Regions from separate parts of the Homo sapiens genome. Here region 1 is linked to region 2. Evidence: promoter capture Hi-C in human tissues and cell types (Jung and others, 2019). All regions are on one chromosome and are shown on one strand. Each heading gives the region's core, a stretch centred on a gene start or on the middle of the fragment in contact. The rest is flanking DNA. Distances are from core to core; before and after follow the strand shown. Region 1 overlaps CWH43 (cell wall biogenesis 43 C-terminal homolog). Region 2 holds the start of CWH43 (cell wall biogenesis 43 C-terminal homolog).

The links. The method cuts DNA at HindIII sites, captures the fragments that hold promoters and counts their contacts. A contact is called where the count stands out against the background at its distance.
Region 1: a contact is called between a fragment that was not itself captured here and the fragment with the promoter of CWH43 in region 2, in 4 of the 25 tissues and cell types used here (lymphoblastoid cells, mesenchymal stem cells, spleen and 1 more).

What each region holds. Positions count from the first base shown.
Region 1 is chr4:49,053,525-49,056,224 of GRCh38, reverse strand. The region is part of intron 15 of CWH43 (cell wall biogenesis 43 C-terminal homolog); the gene reads right to left. Among named protein-coding and RNA genes, the nearest start is that of CWH43, 69 kb to the right of the region's middle. The HindIII fragment of the contact is 4,445 bases long and covers 1-2,700 here.
Region 2 is chr4:48,984,813-48,987,531 of GRCh38, reverse strand. CWH43 (cell wall biogenesis 43 C-terminal homolog) reads right to left here and starts at 1,257. Exons shown (of 16, transcript NM_025087.3): 1 at 1,060-1,257. The coding sequence starts at 1,102. The HindIII fragment of the contact is 14,941 bases long and covers 1-2,719 here.

The DNA.
Region 1 (2,700 bases), core at 123-2,622, 69 kb before region 2:
CATGGATGAAATTGGAAACCATCATTCTCAGTAAACTATCGCAAGAACAAAAAACCAAACACCGCATATTCTCACTCATAGGTGGGAATTGAACAATGAGATCACATGGACACAGGAAGGGGAATATCACACTCTGGGGACTGTGGTGGGGTCGGGGGAGGGGGGAGGGATAGCATTGGGAGATATACCTAATGCTAGATGACACAGTAGTGGGTGCAGCGCACCAGCATGGCACATGTATACATATGTAACTAACCTGCACAATGTGCACATGTACCCTAAAACTTAGAGTATAATAAAAAAAAAAAAAAGAAAAAAAGAAAAATTAGATTGACCATAGTGGCTCATGCCTGTAATCCCAGCACCTTGGGAGGCCAAGGCAGGCAGATCACCTGAGGTCAGGAGTTCAAGACCAAAGACCAGCCTGGCCAACATGGCGAAACCCTATCTCTACCAAAAGTACAAAAATTAGCTGGGTGTGGTGGTAGGCGCCTATAATCGCAGCTACTCAGGAGGCTGAGGCAGGAGAATTGCTTCAACCTGGGAGGTGGAAGTTGCAGTAAGCTGAGATCGTGCCATTGCATTCCAGCATGGGTGACAAGAGTGAGACTCTATCTCAAAAAAAAAAAAAAATGAAAGAAAAATTAATGCCCATCCTTCTCAAACTCTTTCATAATTGAAGAGGAGGGAACACCTGCAAATTCAGTTTATGAGGCCATTATTAGCCTGATACCAAAGCCAGACAAGGATGCTACAAGAAAATGATAAGCCAATATCCCTAATGAACACACATGTAGAAAATCCTTAACAAAATACCTGCAAACTGAATTCAACAGTACCTTAAAAGGATCATACACCCTGATCAAGGGGGATTTTTCCTTGGGATGCAAGGATAGTTAAATATATGCAAATCAATAAATATGATACAATGTATTAACAGGGTAAAAGACAAAAATCATATGATCATCTCAATAGATGCAGAAAAAGCATCTGAAAAATTCAACATCTTTTCATGATAAAAACTCTCAACAAATTAGGCATAGCAGAAATAGACCTCATCATAACAAAGGCCATATATGACAACCCACAGCTAACATCATACTCAGTGATTAAAAGTTGAAAGCTTTTTCTCTGGGATCAGGATCAAGAGAAGGATGCCCACTCTCAGCACTTCTATTCAACACAGTACTGAAAGTCCTAGCTAGAGCAATTAAGCAAGTAAAAGGAATAAAATACATCTAAATTGGAAAGGAAAAAGTTAAATTGTCCCTATTTGCAGGTGACATGATTATATATATATATATATCCCTAAAAACTCCACTGAAAAAAACTGAAAAACTGTTAGAATTAATAAATTCAGTAAATTTGCAGGATACAAAAGCGGCATACAAAAATCAGTAGCATTTCTATGTACTACCAATGAACTATCTGAAAAAGAAATCAAGAAAACAATCCCATTTACAATAGCATCAAAAAATACTTAGGAATAAATTTAACCAAGGAGGTGAAACACCTGTACACTGAAAACCACAAAATAATGATGAAAGAAATTGAAGACCACAAATTAATGGAAACACATCTGGTGTTCATGAATTGGAATAATCAATATTGTTAAAATATTCATACTACCAAAAGCAATCTGCAGATTCAATGTAATCCTTATCAAAATTCCAATGACATTTTTCACAGGAATAGAAAAATCAACCCTAAAATTTGTATAAGACCACAAAACACCTCAAGCAGCCTAAGCAATCACGAGCAAAAAGAACAAAGCTGGAGGCATCACGCTACCAGATTCCAAAATACACTACAAACCTGTAGTAATTAAAACAGTATGGTACTGGCATAAAAACAGATATATAGATCAATAGAACAGAATAGAGAGCCTAGAAATAAATCCACACATTTACAGTCAATTGATCTTTGACAAAGGTACCCCAAACACACAATGGGGAAAGGACAACCTTTTCAATAAGCAATGTTGGGGGAACTGGGTATCCACATGCAGAAGACTGAAATTGGACTCTTACCTCATACCATATACAAAAATCAACTCAAAATAGATTAAAGATTTTTGGGCTTGAAACTGTGAAACTACTAGAAGAAAACATCAAGAAAAACCTTCAACATTGGTCTGGGCAATGATTTTTTAAATATGATCCCTAAAGCACAGGAAACAATAGCAAAAATAGACAAATGGGATTCTATCGAACTAACAAGCTTCTATATAGCAAAGAAAACAATCAACAGACTGAAGAGACAACCTATGGGATGAGAGAATATATTTACAAACTATATAGGTTGAGTATTCTTTATCCAAAATCACTGGGACCAGAAGTATTTCAGATTTTGGATTCATTTTTGGAATATTTGCATTATACTTACTGTTTGAGCATCCCAAATCCAAAAGTACAAAATCTGAAATGCCCCAAGCATTTCCTTAGAGCACTGTGTCAGTGCTCAAAAAGTTTTGAATTTTGGAGCATTTCAGATTTTGGATTTTTTTACTTGAGATGTTCAACCTATATATGATAAACGGCTAATATCCAAAACATATAGGGAACTCAAAAAACTTAATAGCAAGAAAGCAAACTGATTTTTTTAAATGAGCAAAGGACATGAAAAATATTTCTCAAAAGAAGACATCCAAGTGGCCAGCTAGTATGTGAAGAAATGCTCATCACTAATCAAAGAAATACA
Region 2 (2,719 bases), core at 8-2,507:
GAGACTCAGAAAGTTAAGTGAGTACCTAAGGTTACACAAGTAGCAAATGTCAGAGTTGCCCTAACTCTAAGCAGCCTGGCTCCAAAGGTAGCCGGTCTAACCACTGGGCGTGGGAACTTTCTACCAACTGACTTTCCAACCTCCCCTTCTTAATCAGCAAAATAGGACTTTCAACCCCTTCACAGTGTTGTTGGGAGGATTAAATGAGATCAAGTGCACTGAGTACCTAGCACCTGAGGTACTTATTGAATGCTAGGCACTGTACATCTCCCAACTTATAGATACAGGCTGAGCCAGAAAAAAATAGTCTGAAGCACTCCCGAGAATTACCAGCTCCCAGAAAATCAAGTTCTCAGGAAGGCGCCCCACCCAGACCAGAGGGATCTTTGTTTTGTAACGAACCGGGGATTCTAGCAATATCCCAAATGTTTGTCTGGGAACTTTGATTTTATTACTCACACAGCTCCGACAGAATTACACCAATAAAATTGTCCTCGGGATTTTGCAAAGCTGGTGAGAGAGCAGATGAGACTCGAGTCTGATGCTTTTCGCCAAATGCCCAAGTGTGCAGCCGACACCAAGGCCACTTGTCCTGGGCCCAGCCCACGGCAGCAGCTGCCGCCCAGTGTCCACCTACAGCTCCTGGGGAAAACGGGTGCCCCTTTCCTTCTGAATTTTAAAGTTCAGCACTGAACTGTATTAAGTTAAACTTAAAGGCCACGGGTGGGGGGCTTTGGGGACGGTACCGGCCGCGCGGGGTCAAGGCCGACACGAGGAGAATTCGCGCTCCTTGGGCACAATCCCAGGGCTGCTGGGAACTCGGGCGACGGGGTCTCTCGCGGGCGCCTCGCAGACTCAGCTTGAAGACTTCAATCTAGGTCTTTTCCTTTATTCCCTTCAGTAGGAAAAGTTCCCAGGGGACGATAAGCATCTCCACTCTGGGCACGGAGCGCCCTTTTCCTCCTACCTGAACTCAGCCAACCTGGCCTGGCTCCACGGCTCTGGACATGGCCCGGGGAGCTGGCACCCGCGAACTCGCGGCGAGGGGCTTCGGCTTACCCAGCAGCGACTCCAAGAGGATTTCTCTCCACAGCGAGGGCATCGCCGCGGCGAGGGGCAGCGCTTTCCAGGAAAGCCGTGCGGGTCGGGCCCGCTGCCCTAGCCCTGCGCCCCCAGGTTCCCGCCGCCGCGTCCTCCCGGGCCTGCGTCCGCGCCCCTCGTTCCCGCGTCCCGTTGCCAAGTGAGCCCCAGCCAACTGACCCACTTGCCGAACCGAGGCAGTGTGGGGCCGGTCCGCCCGCCCCTTCACGACCACACCCAGCCTCGCCTGCCAGAGCCTGGCCAGGCCGGGCGCCACCTGTGCGCGTTGCGCCGCCTCCGGCGCCTCTGGTCCCCGCCTTTGCCTCCTTGGCGCGAGCCCCAGCGGCACCCTTGGCCGGTGCAGGGGACATGCGTCTCGGCTCTGACTCTGCTATTGGGCCCGAACCCGAAGCAACCCCGGGGATGCAGCGCTGCCAGAGCCCAGGAGGGAGCGAACAAGTGCAACTCCGGACCAGTGGTGCCCTCGTTTAGACTAGGCCCACGGGGTGCTCTGCGAGGAGAAGGCAGAGAGGAAGGACCGCTGGAGACCCAGATGGGGACCCTGGAGGAGCAGGTCCTGTGCACCAGCTCCAGCGCCCTGGAAGCCTTAGGGGACCACGGGGCGCGAACCCGACTGTGGCGATCTTCAGGCCAGGGCGACGCATCGGAAGCGTGCCGGCAGGGCCAGGGCCACTGCTGGGCCACTCTCAGCTTTGATAGTAAAAGTGCAATTTGTTAATTGCCTCCTAGCAAAGGGGCCCAAAATTCCAGCGGCTGCAAGATATTCTCAGGGGAGAGAAAGTAACTGATGCGAGTGGAAACCCGGCCCTCCCCTAGTTTATGAATAATGATATTTGAGAGTGCTTATCCCTAAAAAGAAGGTGGGAGACGTTCTGATTAATGTGGAGAGTGAACTAGGCCAGCTATTTCTCGCTCAAATGTATCACACTCCTGGATGTCTTGAACTTGTTTAAGAACCCCTGAAAGCAATTTATTTTAATGCACTTTAATTTCTTAAGGAGAGCTTATTATTTATCAGTTCCAGAAAGTTTGCTCTGAAATTAAACAATGATGGCATGCCCAAAAAGTATTAGAATCACATTAGCAGCAATCATTGCTATTAAGTCCATAGGAGTATTGAGCAAAGAGTTTTTTTCTGTTTTGTTGTGTTTGAGACGGAGTCCTGCTCTGTAGCCCAGGCTGGAGGGCGGTGGCATAATCTCGGCTCACTGCAACCTCCGCCTCCTGGGTTCAAGCGATTCTCCTGCCTCAGCCTCTCGCGCAGCTGGGACTACAGGCACGTGCCACCACACCCAGGTAATTTTTGTATTTTTAGTAAAGACGGGGTTTCACCATATTGGCCAGGCTGGTCTCAAACTCCTGACCTCATGATCCGCCCTCCTCGGCCGCCCAAAGTGCTGGGATTACCAGCGTGAGCCACCGCGCCTGACCAAGTAAACAGTTCTTAATCGGTTAATTACTAGCTCTCTCAATCTCAAGGGTAGATACATAGATTAATGGAATAGAAGTGAGAGACTGGAGATAAAAACCCCCTTTTAGGGTCAAATGAGTTTCACAAACTTGCCAAGACAATTCCACAGGGAAGAGTCTTTTCAAAAAAATGATTCTATGAGTACTA